2 separate regions of the Homo sapiens genome follow, and region 1 is linked to region 2. Evidence: promoter capture Hi-C in human tissues and cell types (Jung and others, 2019). All regions are on one chromosome and are shown on one strand. Each heading gives the region's core, a stretch centred on a gene start or on the middle of the fragment in contact. The rest is flanking DNA. Distances are from core to core; before and after follow the strand shown.

The links. Contacts are between HindIII fragments. The study calls those that stand out against the background at their distance.
Region 1: a contact is called between a fragment that was not itself captured here and the fragment with the promoter of GRHL3 in region 2, in 4 of the 25 tissues and cell types used here (IMR-90 fibroblasts, lymphoblastoid cells, mesenchymal stem cells and 1 more).

The regions. Positions count from the first base shown.
Region 1 is chr1:24,279,291-24,286,587 of GRCh38, forward strand. No RefSeq gene overlaps it. Among named protein-coding and RNA genes, the nearest start is that of GRHL3, 36 kb to the right of the region's middle. RefSeq lists an enhancer at 6,810-7,297. The HindIII fragment of the contact is 7,226 bases long and covers 1-6,096 here.
Region 2 is chr1:24,314,112-24,321,322 of GRCh38, forward strand. GRHL3 (grainyhead like transcription factor 3) reads left to right here and starts at 5,246. Exons shown (of 16, transcript NM_198173.3): 1 at 5,246-5,457. The coding sequence starts at 5,441. The region is part of intron 1 of GRHL3-AS1 (GRHL3 antisense RNA 1); the gene reads right to left. The HindIII fragment of the contact is 14,571 bases long and covers 3,748-7,211 here.

The sequences.
Region 1 (7,297 bases), core at 1,234-3,733, 38 kb before region 2:
ATACAAAAATTAGCCGGGCAGTAGTGGCACATGCCTATAATCCCAGGTACTTGGGAGGCTGAAGCAGGAGAATTACTTGAGCCTGGAAGATGGAGGTTGCAGTGAGCTGAGATCGAGCCACTGCACTCCAGTCTGGGCAACAGAGTGAGACCTTGTCTCAAAAAACAAAACAAAAAAAAAAACAAAAAAAACACAAAAAACACAAGAAGGTCCTTAGAAAACCCTGGACATCTTCAAGCTAATGGATCTAAAGTTTTTCTGGTGCTAACGGCAACCCCGCCCAGCAGGAATTATCATCTGTACTTTGTAGATGAGGAAACTGAGGCTCAGAGAAGTTGAAGTTAAGCAAGTGGCCCAAAGGACCTCAGCCAATCCAAAAGCCTTTCTTGCTGCCCAGTCCTGACATCCCTGGTGGTGGTGAAAACAGGGGAAGCCTGAGGGTACTGATTAATCACCACCGTTTAATCTCGTTGAAAGCAGTTATTAAGTTGGTGCAAAAGTAATTGCGGTTCTTGCCATTACTTTTAATGGCAAAAACTCGTCAACTTTTGCACCAACCTAATACCATGTGGCAGGCACAGGGTCAAGCAATGAGTGTGTATGGTCTCCTTCCATCTCAACATCACCTCCCCTGAGAGAGATGTCATTATTCCTCCTAACAGAGGAGAAAACTGAGACCCATGGAGGTTACTTGTGTGATCCCACAGCTGCTAAGTGGCAGAACCAGAATTTGAACCCACATTTCTCTGTGAGTAAGACAGATGGTGAATTATTACCAAATATTGATTGAAGCAGGAGTTGGTAACATGACAAGTCTTTTAAAACCCAGTTTTATTAAGTACAATACACATATGTACAGAAAAGTGTAATATACATTATAGAAAAGTGCACCAATCATGAATTTTCACAATCTGAACACCGCCATCCATACCTAGGTGCAAAAGCAGAACTTTCCCAGTAACACACACCCCCTCACTCCCCTGTCCTGACCATTATCCTGACTTCTAATCTCATCAGTTCATTTTGTCCTTTAGCTAAATGAAATCACACATCGTGTGTCCTTTTGTGCCTGGCTTCTTTCATAATTATGTTTGTGTACAGGAAGCCTGTTTTTCAATGTTTTATTATGAAAGTTTTCAAACATCACAGCAAAAGTTGAAAGCATTTTATAGTGAATATCCTTAAACTCACCATTTAAATTCTATGAATGTTGTACTGTACTTGCTTTTCTTTCACATAAAGCCATCCCTCTAGACATTCATTAATGCTTCGACTTCATTATAAATTTTAAAGTAAATTGCAGACATCAATACAATTTCCTTAACTACTTCAGCATGCACATATATTTGCTCACAACTTTTATCCTTTTGATGTAAAATTTATATATGATGAAATGCACAAGTGCTTTTTATTGAGTTTTCATAAATGCATACACCTGTGATCCCAAACCCTCTCAAAATAAAGAATATTCCCCTCACTCCAGGAAGTTCCCTCATGCCCCTTCCCAGTCAATACTCTCCCCTCCAGCACACTAGGCAACCCACTGTACCAATATTTTTCCACAGTAGATTGGTTTTGCCTGTCCTGAAAATTCATATAAATGGAATGATACCTTATATAATCTCTCATGTAAGGCTTTTTTCATTCAATGTAGTGTTTTGAGATTCATCCATGTTGTTCCTGCATATCATTAATTCATTCCTTTTTATTAATGGGGAGTATTCTTTTGTAGGCCTATACTGCGGTTCGTTTGTCCATTTTCCTATTGATGGACACCCGGGCTGTTGACAATTTGGGGCTATTATGAGAAAGGTGCTATGTGCACTCTTCTACAAGGCTTTTTGTGAATTTGTGTTTTCATTTCTTTTGAGTAAATACTTAGGAGTACAACGACTGGGTCACAGGGTAGGTGTATGTTTTATTTTACAAAAAAATGACAGATCTTTTTCCAAGGTGGTGGTACCATTTTATTGCACCACCAACAATGTATCACTTTGTCACCAACAATGAATGAGAGTTCCAGTTGCTCCACAGCCTCATCAACATTTGGTCTAATTTTATTTTATTTTATTTTATTTTTGAGACAGAGTCTTGCTCTGTCACCCAGGCTGGAGTGCAGTGGCACGATTTCAGCTCACTGCAACCTCCACCTCCCAAGCTCAAGTGATCCTCCCACCTCAGCCTCCCAAGTAGCTGGGTCTACAGGCATGTGTGGCCATGCTGGGCTAAATTTTTGTATTTTTTGCAGAGACGGGGTTTCACTATATTGCCCAGGCTGGTCTCGAACTTCTGAGCTCAAATGATCCACCCCACTTCAGCCTCCCAAAGTGCTGGGACTACAGGCATGAGCTACCACACCTGGCTGGTATTGTCCATCTTTTTAATGTTTCTGGTAGGTATGTAGTAGCAGCTCACTGTGGTTTTAATTCACATTTTTATGAAAAAGCACCTCTTTCTCCAGATGGATACAGTTCCTTGCCAAGACTCACCGCTTAGCAAGCAGAGCACAGCCTGCCCAACGATCCATGGTGGCTGTGCTTCAGGTCTCCATTGTGCCTACTGGGCAAGATGAACAGGAGCCAGCCCTTGAAGTACTATCTTTATTTTAAAGAAAAATAGCATCTATAGTGGTTGAGAGTGGCCTCTGCAGTTAGATTGTCTGGGTTCAGACCCCAGCCTCACCACATACCAGCTGTGTGACAATGGACAAATTACTTCCCATTTCTAAGTCTTCATTCCCTCACATCTACTCATAAGTTTGTGGTGAAGATTAAATAAGATGGAACATGTAACATACCTAGCACAGAAAACACTAGTAAACATTAGTTGTTTTGTTATTGTTCTATCTGAGTAGAAAAGTTACATACAATTATCATAGAAAATGAAGAAAAGTAGAAAGAAGCTTAAAGTTACCATAACCCTGACATCCAAAGATAACTGTTATTAATATTTGGTGCATTTTTCTAGTATTTCTATATAGGATTAAAAATTTTTTTTTAATTTTTTTTTTCCACAGTCTCACTCTGTCACCTGGGCAGGAGTGCAGTGGCATGATTTTGGCTCACTGCAGCCTCAACCCCTTAGGTTCAAGCAATCCTCCTGCCTCAGACTACTGAGTAGCTGGGACCATAGGCACACACCACCATGCCCGGCTAATTTTTTCATTTTTTTGTGGAGATGGGGGGGGTCTCACTTTGTTGCCCAGGCTGGTCTGAAACTCCTGGGCTCAAGCTATTCCCCCACCTTGGCCTCCCAAAGTGTTGGGATTACAGTCGTGAACCACTGTACCCAGCCTGGAATTGTTTAAAAACACCAATGGCATCATACTCTGTATACAATTTCATACCCTCCTTTCTATATTTAACTCTATGTCATTAACATTTTCTCATGTCATTGCATGTTCTTCAAAACTCCACTCCTAAAGGCTGTGGAATGTTCCAGCAACAGGTGCTGCACTGTGTCAGGTGATAAAGCAGTGGGTTGAAGATCAGTGATTCCAGAAACAGTCTTGTATCCTCTTGACTACATGTGATTATTCCCTTAGGATATTTTTAAAGCCTTTGATAAACATTATCAATTTGGAGCACCAGATCAAAACCACATCTTTTCACTTTTTCCTAAATATAAAATTAATGCAGGTTATGAAAAGAAGAAATAATACATGATTGTGAAGAATAGAAAGTGAAAGCCCCCCTCCCTCCCCAATAATCTCACTAGTAAAGAAAAATCACTTTGATGTACATGCTTCCAGACCTTCTATTCCATACATATGCAACAGTAGATATAAGTATACTAACCCAAGAGTAGAAGGGGATGCTGGAGTCTGCCTGTGCCTGGTTCAAGTTCTGACTCTGCTGTGTATTCACTGTGTGACCTGGGGCGAGTTAATTCACCTCACTGTGCCCTGTTTTTAAAAATCGCTTCATTTGTTTCTGGAGTTATTTTTCAAATATCTCCAGGTTCCTCAACATTCTCAACCCTGAATGGATACTGGAGAGTCTGCTGGAGTCTGTACCTGAAACTGGGCCAGGGATGCCTTAGCCGTTTGGACCAGACATTCCTCCCATGCTGCTGCCCTGGAGGTCCCTGGACCACAGGCGAGGTTGAGGTTCCCCAGCTTTGCAGCAAGTAAACATTGATTCACCTGGGCACCCGGGGTAATTGTACAAATTGCCCATGCAGATGGGTGCCTCATGCCTGGTTACCCAATGCTTACTCAGGTAGGTGTGGTTACCCAGAGACAGGTGGGTGCCCACGCCTCACCTACTACTTGGAGGCCCCAGTCATAGTCATCATATCAGGGAGTATGGGGGATGCCATTTGGGGCCTCCTCAAAAAAGATGCCACCTGCTCTAGCCCAGGAAGTCAAGCTATGGTTGCTCACCTTGGGACAGTAGGGACAGCTTGCTGGGCTTGTAAATAAATGTGGAGCAAATCACAGTGAATGACCCGCACCTCACTTAGGCCTTCACCAGGCATTGCCAAATGCTGCCTTCTCTTTACTCGCCCAGGAGCCCAGGCACATTGGTGTCTTCATTATTTCCGAGTGGACCTTATTCAATAACCCAGGGAAAATCAACAATGTGATTAATTAAAATCTTAAGACACACTCTGTTTTGTTATCTGTGGACTCTACTGAGCTACTTCCTCCAGGAAGAAGGAATTGGCCCACTTGTTGGGTTTATTTATTTACTTATCTACATGCATCTGGACAGTTTTGCGTTGTGATTCATTCTGGGAAAGCTATATCAGATGGGACCACATCCAAGGAGGAACCGGGTTGGGAAAGGATGCTGGAATCCCGGAATTGCCTTCCCAGTCACCTCAGAATCAGGATTATGCTCTTTTTTAATGCTTTCTCCTTCACAATGAGTTTCCCCCCCAGAAACCTCATTAACCCTGAAACTTTTTGAACATTTTCCACAGGTAAGGGAGGCTGGTCTTCTGGACTCGGCTGAGTCCTGGGTGACTCAGGCTGAGTCCTCAGGAAAACCCCAGGGGCTCAGGATGCAACCTGCTGAGTCCCAGGCCGGTGGCCGAACCTCCTCAAGCCTCGTCTTCTCATCAGCAAAATTAAAAGTTCCCTCTTAGGGTGTTGCAGGTTTCAATAGAATCACACCGCGGATCAGGCTCGCTTCGGGGCCATTGCACATGCTGTTCCCTTTTTCTGAGACACAATTCCTCTCTTCCCATCACCACTCCAGCCTCTCAACTTGGTTGACACCAACCATCCTTCCAGCCGTAGTTTAAATATCATTTCTGGCTGGGTGCCCTGGCTCATGCTTGTAATCCCGGCACTTTGGGAGGCCAAGGTGGGCAGATTGCTTGAGTCCAGGAGTTCAAGGCCAGCCTGGGCAACACAGACCCTGTCTCTACAGAAGTAAACAAAATTAGCCCAGTGTGGTGGTGTGTGCCTGTGGTCCCAGCTACTCAGGAGGCTGAGGTGGGAGGATTGCTTGAGACCGGGAGGTTAAGGCTACTGTGAGCTGTAACCATGCCATTGTACTCCAGCCTGGGTGACAGAGCACGACCCTGTCTCAAAATTAAATAAATAAATAAATATTATTTCTTCAGAGAGTACCTCAGCCCAGCTCAGGTGCCCAGTTCAAAGCACCCACCTCAGCCCAGTTCAAAGCACACACAGTCCCTTGAATTTTCCTTCTCAGCCTCATCACATCTGTAATTTAAGTAACTCTTTGTTTAACATCTGCCTCCTTGGCCCAGCCCAGGAGCCCCATGGGGGAGGGCTGGGTCTCTGTTGCTCACCCCTCCATCCCGCTCCTCATGCAGGTCTGGCACTTAGTGGGCACTTGGGAAACACGAGTGACCCTTTCAGAACCCAGGAGATGGCCTGTGGATCTGGAACCTCCAGCACCCACGTGAGGCCCTTTGACTTGGCCTCTTGCCAATAAGGTTTGGGCCAAGGCCATGGAGACAGTGGCAGAAGCCTTGGCGTTCAAGCTGTACCCCCCTAGAAATTGGGGTTCAGTCAGTTCCCCAATTCTGTGGTTAGATTAAGGGTGGGCAGGCCCAGACAAGCCTGTTCTGGAGCAGAGGCCACTGGGGCAGGCAAACCCTGAGCCTCACCCACGCTGCTCTGTCTCCGGAGCACACGCAGGCTGCTACATGCCTAAGGAGATGTGGCAGCTGCTCCCCAAACGCAGCTACACCCCGACCTCCATCTTGAGAGAGAGGAGAGCCTGTGGTGTACAGCGTGGCCCCAGCAGGCACCTGTGCTGATGGGAAAACACACAGACAGGCCAACGAATACACGTACGCGCACGCACGTACAGACTCCACTCAGAGGCAACTTCTGGGCAAGGCCCAGCCCTCTGCTGTGGTTTTGTATGGGCCCAAATATTTCTCTTTCTTGATTTATGAGCTGAGGAGGGTGAGAATCCCAATAGGCACAGCCTAGTGGCACAGGGACCTGGTTGTCTGTGTGCCCTGGGGAATTACATTGAGAATAAGGACAATGCCAACAGCGGCAGCTGCCAAAGTTGTCTTTTAAAATCAAAGACTCCTATGTGCCAGGCACCGTGCTAAGCCTTCTGTACATGACCAATATTTATTGAGGGCCCACTGTGCTCCAGGCACCGTGTAAGGCTTTTGGGATACAGCGATGCACAGAGGAGGTATGAAGTTGTGCCCTCGTGCAGCTTATGGTTGGGAAAGGCACGTAGTAAGTGAAACAAATAAGTAACTTATACAGCAGGTTAGAAGGGGCATGTGCTGTGGAGGGAAATAAGGTAGCAAAGGAGGAGAGAGGAGTGGAGTTGGGCAGGGGAATGCTGTGGTTTTGTTTTTTTTTTTATGTTTTTATTTTTGATACTGGGTCTTGCTGTGTTGCCCAGGCTGGGGGGCAGTGGTGCAATCACCGCTCTCACTGCAACCTCGACCTCCCAGGTTCAAGCCATCCTTCCACCTCAGCTTCCCAAGTAGCTGGAACTACAGGTGTGTACCACGACGCCCAGCTAATTTTTCTGTTTTTTTTTTTTTCTTTTTTGTATTTTTTGTGGAGACAGGGTTTCACCATGTTGCCCAGACCCATCTCAAACTCCTGGGCTCAAGAGATCCTCCCACCTTGGCCTCCCAAAATACTGGGGATTACAGGCGTGAGTCACTGTGCCCCACCTAATGTTGTGGTTTTAAACAGCCTGATCAGGCTCCCGGAGAAGGTGACACTGTATCGTCTCAGGTCACCTTCTTAATAAGCTCCTCTGGTCATCACTATTATCATCCCCATGTGATGGCTGAGAGAGCTGAGGCTCAGATGGGGAACAGACGTGCTCAGAGG
Region 2 (7,211 bases), core at 3,996-6,495:
CTTCCCTTGGGTGGTGGTGGGTGGGGTGGGGGGTAGAAGGCAATACCTAATTTGCCCAGAATGTCAGTAATGTGTGAAATTATGTTCATTCATCCGTTTTTCATTTATTCAACAAACATTTATTGAATACCTATTATGTTGAGACACAGGACAAGTGCTATGTGAGATTTATTTTTCCTTGTATGGTTTCTGCCCTCCAGAAATTTACAAATCCTATCTGCCTTGCAGATACTATCAACCAACCTATCTACTTTTCTTCCCTCCCTCCCTCCCATCTCCCTTCTATCTATCCCTCCTAGACCTTGTTCCAGACAGGGACTAGGAAGCTTGAAAGGACTATTTCCACAACTTTGGGATCAGGCCAACTTCAGTTTGATTTCATCTCTGTCACTAAGGGGAGAGCCAGGTGACCTTAGATGTTATATCACCTCTCTGGGACTGTTACCATCTTCTGTATAAAACAGGGATACTTATGGCGGCTACTTCACAGGCCTCTTGAATTACATGATTTTATATATATATATATATTTATTTATTTATTTATTTATATATTATTTATATATATATTTATATATTTATATATTTATATATATATAAAATCAAGCACTAGAACAGTGCCTGACACATACTATGGACACTGTTATCTAATCCTCATAGCAATCATTTCACTGAGGACAAACTGAGGCAGAAGGAAGTGAAGTTGCTTGTCCAAGGCCTCAGGCAGTCACCCTCAAAGCTGACGTTCTTTAGTAACTTGGCCAACCATGTGACCCCATTTTACAGGTAGGAATGGGATAGAGCATCTACAGCTAGCATTATGGCGTTAAGTGCTCAATAAATGATAGTAATTTTAATTGCAAAATCAAAATGAGATCAGATAGCTGAGCTCGCTGCTGAGAGCCTGCAAGCCAGACAGCCCCCCTGCAAGCCAGACAGCCCCCCCGTCTCCATTCCTGTGCCTCCCAGGGGATCACTGGGCAAGGACTCAGTCTTCACTCTCTTCATCCCTGCCCTTGTCCCAGGAAGGATAGGGACACAATGGCCATTTGTCAATGGGAAATTATTTTGGTTTAATGACATTTAAACTGGGGCTTTGTATAGAATTTCTAATTACAAAAGCAGTGCAAGTTCAATGTAGCCCGTTTGGGGGAAGACGGAGAAAAGATTGAAATCCTGGTATTTCAGTGCCCACAGAGAAGCACTGTTGACATGTGGGTATATATTCTTTCAATATTTGAATATAGGTCAACAGATTTGCATTAAGAGTTCTGGATAATTAGAAAGCATTCAAGTGTTAGAAAAGGACGGCTGTCAGCAAGGTCCTCATGTTCAGCAGCGCATGTCCCGTCTGGTAAATGGTGCCGTCATTGTTCAGTACACAACTTTCACAGACACACAGAGGAGCCCTGGCTCTCAGTGCTCACTTACAGTGGCCCTAACTTTTACTCCTCCCCAACATGCCAAGGAGAAGTGTCATACTCTTTGGGAACAGTGGCTTCTGCACAGGCATGATCGTGGAAAGGAGGGGAGGGATGAAGGACTGTGCAGTCCTCCAAGAGGGCAGATCAGAACGTCTGGAGAAAGAACATCAGTAATCTAGAAAAGCAAATCAAGATGATTTTAATAGGGAACTCCCCCCTTATAGTGATTCACTAATCTGTTCTTATAGAGGGAAATTGAGACTCTGAGAGGAGAGAATTTACTCAGTCACACAATAAGTAGCCAGAGGTCAGGCAGAACTTGAGCGCAGGGCACTCCCTAACTTAGTCCAGTCCTGCAAGAATGGAATCAGAAAGATGTGGGTTCAAATCTCAATTCTTTAACTTATTAGCTTTTGTTTTGTTGTTGTTGTTGTTGACATTATCTGTTTGCACAGGCTGAGTGCAGTGGCGCGATCTTGGTTCACTGCAACCTCCGCCTCCCAGGTTCAAGCAATCCTCCTGCCTCAGCCTCCCAAGTAGTTGGGATTACAGGTGTATGCCACCATGCCCAGCTAATTTTTGTTTTTTTAGTAGAGACGGGGTTTCACCGTGTTGGCCAGGCTGGTCTCGAACTCCTGATCTCAAGTGATCTGCCTGCCTTGGCCTCCCAAAGTGCTGGTATTATTGGCATGAGCCACCGCACCCAGCTAACTTTTGACTTCCAACAAATCATTTAACCTCCGAGTCTGTTTCTTCACTTGTGAAATAAGGTTAATATCTTCCTCATTAGATTTAAATGAGAATTAAGGGGGGAAAAAAAGGCTTTTCTAACAAGTATTGAGTGCTAGATGCCAGGTACAGATAATGCACTTCACACGCATTATCTTTTAATCCTCACAATAACCCCATAAGGGAGGAATACAATTTTTATATACACTTTACAGGTGAGGAAACTGAGGCTCAAAGAGCTGTAGCCACTTGCCCGACATCATGTAGCTAGTTGGGCTGAGATTTGAAAGGAGGCCTGTGAGTCTCAGAACAATACTATCCTAACACATAGGTAAGTCTTAGCACAGTGCTTGCAAAATACAAACGCTAACTAAACAGCAGCCCTCATTATTTACTGTCATTATTGTGGATATAATTATTATGTTACAAGTAATTGGCTGGTCTCTGTTTATGTTTTTTTAAACTTTGTTTTTTTTTTTTTTTTTTGGAATAGCTGTTCTGTTTTAAATCTCCTCTGCAGAGGAACCAAGAGCTGTGCTGATCCATGAAGGGGAAGTAGGTGCCAGCCTTGCTCAGCCCCACAGGAGCAGGAAGGGGGCAGCAGCAAAGCACGGGGAGTGTCTCTTTAAAGGCCTGGCATCTCTGGGTTGTTGGGATGAAGGCCTAGAAAGCACTTGTACCTCCTGCCTGGGAGGTATAATTCCTACTGAGGGGCCTGGTGACCTTGCAAACTGGCTCATGGCGTTCCTGCCTACCTAGCCCAGACCACCGGTCCTTCTATCCCATCCGGGACACTTCTGTAGCCTTCCTGTGTGTGGAGACGTAGAAACCCTCTGCCCTGTGATTTGGGTCTCTGCTGATCTCTGAAGATGGGTGCGGGTGATGAAAGAGGCAAAACCTAGAGGCAGAGGGAGAGGACCCATTTTTAAAACCCCAGCGAGCACAGACACGCCACCTGGAATCCCAGCCTCCCCTGAGCCCAGTCAGCATGAGTCACCCCACAGCCCTTCACCTGTGGGTTGCAACACGGTTGACAGAAACTCCACAGCCTTCCATGAGGTGGGCAGACAGGTACATACAGAGGAGTGTGCCATCCTTTGGACTGCAATAAGCTTTGCAGTTACAGTTGGCACCAAATAGCCCTTCAGCCACCAATAAGCTCTGTGAAGTGGTTGGGCACCCAGGCTCTGCTCTCGGATTAAATCCCAGCTCTAGCTCTACCACTGCCTAGCTCTGCAGCTTGAGTAGTTTACTTCAGTATTCTGTACCTCAGTTTCCTCATCTATAAAATGGGGGTATCAAAAATGTCTATCTCCCAGGGTTGCTGTAAGGATTAGGCGACACAATGTATGCAAAGGCGCACAATGCCCGGTGCCTGTGGTATATGAAGCACCTACTAGGTGCCAGACACTGGAGATTCCACAGTGAGCGACACAAAGTCTTTGCTCTTATGGAATTTACATTCCAGAGGAAGGGGAGAAAGACAATAAACGATTAGAAAAATATCATAGGTCATATTACATTGTATCATAAGTCATAAGGGCTCTGCAGAGAACAAAAAGTAGTGTGATCCAGAGTGATTGAATGTCTACTTTATTAACAAGGGTGACTGAAGAGGGCTGCTCTGAGGAGGTGGCTTTATTAGCAATTATTTACTATTATTTATTAGGGTCCCCTGGGCTTCCCCCAACACAGCCTCCAGGGAGAAACCAATCTCTGAGAGTTCTCAAACCCAGTACCCCCTCTCCAGAGCCCTGACCCCACCCCAAGAGGGCTCCTTTGAATTCTGACTTTACCCTGAAAAACCTCCATAAATTGGCAGGGGTAGCTGAAACCTCACTTGCCGTTCCCAGAGAAGAGAGAGAGGAGTGGGCCAAGTTGAGGTTTCCAGGAAGACACAGCAAAGAGATAATTTGCCAAAAGGGGAAGGGTGGGGGAGGGGAGAATAGAAAGAGAGAGAGGGAAAAAAAGATGCCAAGATCTCTGGCTTAGATTTAATTTCAAACTAATCCTGGAAGAAGCTCTTTAAAAAGCTCTTACATTCTCCTGTTTGTGTTTGTGGATATTCTGGGGTTTACCAAGCTTGTTCTTTATAGTAGACAGCTCACAGCAATTACTCCACAATTACTTCATCTGACAGGCATTGAATTTCTCCCAAGTTCCCAATACAGAACGAAGCACTTGGAGCCTGTGAAATGACCAGCTGGCTGAGGCTTCAGAGGAGCCTTCAACTTTTCTATCCCTTCTGTGCTGACCAGAGGTATGTGGCTTGCCCACACCCCCTTCACACCCAATAAAAGCCTGTTCTCCTTTACTCCCCCACCCCCTGCCACCAACACACACCCCCCAGATTGTAAACTCCTTTAGAACAGTAACCCCTGTTTTTTCTGGCCTCAGTTTCTCCAGAACCCAGAGTAGGGTCTGGCACACAACGGGTGCTCAATGAATGTCTACTGAATTGAGGCCACTGACTTCAGCCCAAGGGGCAGCCAGACTTGGAGTGAGATGACTGCAGATTGGATCTGGGCTGGGACCTCGCTAGCTGTGCCCTTGGGCAAGGCACTTTGCCTCTCTGGCCTCCATTTCCTCCCTCATCTGTAAAATATGTGTTGAAGAGGAAGGGGGAAGCGATAATAAATCTACCACGGTAGGTTACTTTAAGAACCAAAAGAAGTCACTTGAGTAACTGCAAAAGATTATTCAAAAATATTACCTTAAAGGGGAAACTGAAAAAAAGGGAACTTATACAAAGATCTACCTGGGAAAAGTTGCTCTCTCCTTTGAGAATTCCCCAGTGGTACAGAAGGAGGGGGCAAAGAAATTTGGGGGTGGGGATGTTTCTGGGTATCTGGGACAATGACTAGAAACAGGAATCAAGTTTTCCTTTAAGCCAAGTTATCTGTTTGTCCCTGTACTTTTCCTCTAGTTATCTTGCTTCTTTCCAACATTTTCTTCTCCATCCCTCCTCCCTCATCTCCACCCCCCACCCCCTCACCAAGGAAGGAATTGGCCAGCTCCACCCAGCCAGTCCCCCATAGCTCCGCCCTCCTCGGCGGGCTAAGAGTTAACAGCTGCACCTGTTGAGGTATACCTCCAGTCGCCGGCACCTGTACCTGTAGCCAATCAGCGCCAGCGCTGCTGGGAACCTACCTGTCAGCAAAATCTCGACACCCAAACCTCAACATAAATCAAACACTTTCCCGGGCAGAGAATGTCTGTGTCAGGCAAGAATTAGAGACAAGCGGTCAGCAGAGCCTCAGTGCTGATCGTCGGAGCTTGGGAGCAGGAAGATGTCGAATGAACTTGAGTGAGTAAACATCGGTGGATACCTGCCGCTCTCAGAGCGTGGAGGCTGGATGGGGTTTCCTGGAGGGGGAAGAGCGGGGAGGCCGGCACCGGGATTCACAGAGCAATTTGTAAGGGTAAATGAATGGGCTGACGATCTTACTTTGGCGTGTCAAGGCAAGCCCCAGTCTCAAGCTAGAGGTGAGTGTTTCCCTGGGAAAATAGTTTTTCTCATTCTCTTTGCTGAGCAGTTTCGAGCCAGGCAGGGAAACACAAGACTGAAACTGTGAAGGTTTCTGGCACCACTTTTTGATCCTCTGAAGGGGCCTTGGAAATCAGACGACCCCAATCCCATCGAGGCTTTCTATCTTCTTGCCAAAAGGAACTTCTTTAAGGTAGTTCTAAGAGCTGTCTTAGGCAGAGAGTTGGGTTTCTCTAAAGGGACTTGTTTGCTGGGTTGGAACAGTCCCAAGTGGGAAGGTTACAGTGTGGTGGTTAAGCATGTGTACTCTTTGTAGTGGGCTTGACCTAAGTTCAAATCCAGGCTCTGTCCCTGGGTGATCTCAGACAAGACATTCAATTTTTCTGGGCTTCATTTTCCTCATCTGGAAAATGGGTACAAGAATGCTTTGTAGAATTCTGGAAAGAGTTAAGTGTGATAAATGCTGTAAAATGCTTAGCATAAAGCTATGGTCTGAAGATGCGTTCAGTAAAATGTGGTTCCTCTCATTCAGAGGCAGTTCTAAGGCTGGGGAAGATGAGAAGTGATTTTTGGTAGGTCACCTCTTTTGGCTGGGAGGATGCATGTGCCTTCCTGCCCACATCTGAGATTTAAGATCCTGACTGACTGATGCTGATCTTCACCATGATGTCCTTCTTGGGGTCCAGACCTTAGAGAAGGTAGGGTGAGGCTGGGATCTGGGCTGCTTTAGATTGGGTTCAGGGAGCTGGCAGGAGAAGCCAGAATCCTTTAAACACAGGCTCTCCTTTTCCTGCCACCCTCAGAGGTGAGTGGGCAGAGGCAAGGATTGTACCATCTTTTTTCTAACTGCTCCTCAACAGACTTTTAAGAACTTGAAGATCTGTGGGCAGACAGCAGTGCTAGGTCCTGACTGCAGACCGGATTCTATGTTCTAGCTAGCCCTTCAGCTCTTCATGTTCACAGCACAATCACTTGGGTTAACAGGCACATTTCTTTTGAATGAATTTCCCGGGGTTGACAATGTATTGACAATTGGACCGCAATGAGAATAAGAGCAGGAGCATTGGTACTGACACCTGGGTTCAAGTCCCAGCTCTAGCACTTATAGCTGTGTGATGTTGAGCAAGTCCCTTAATCCTCATCTGTAAATAGTGGCCAACAGTAGTATCCACCTCATGGGGTTGTTAGAGGATTTGACAATTTTAGAATAGTGATTGCTTTTAAGGCTGGTGGAGAACACACCAGTAACACCATTGTCATTTCATGTAGAACTAACCAATCAATGAGCATTCCCAAACCTCTTGCTATTTTTCCATACTTTGAACGCGCAAAAAAATCTTGACATGTGTCTCCATCCCACTTAAATTTGCTGGCTAAAACTGCGGAGGCTACAGACAGAATCTATTCATTACTGCACGTTAGGGGGTATGTGTTCTGAAGCTGGGTTACTTGAACAGAAAGGTTTCTTGCTTTTCTCCTCCCTAATGGTTTGGATTTGAAGTCAGATCCGCTGACAGTTGAGGCTTCTCAGTTTGGGGTGGGGTGAGGGAAGCCAGTTGCCTGCTGAGTAATTG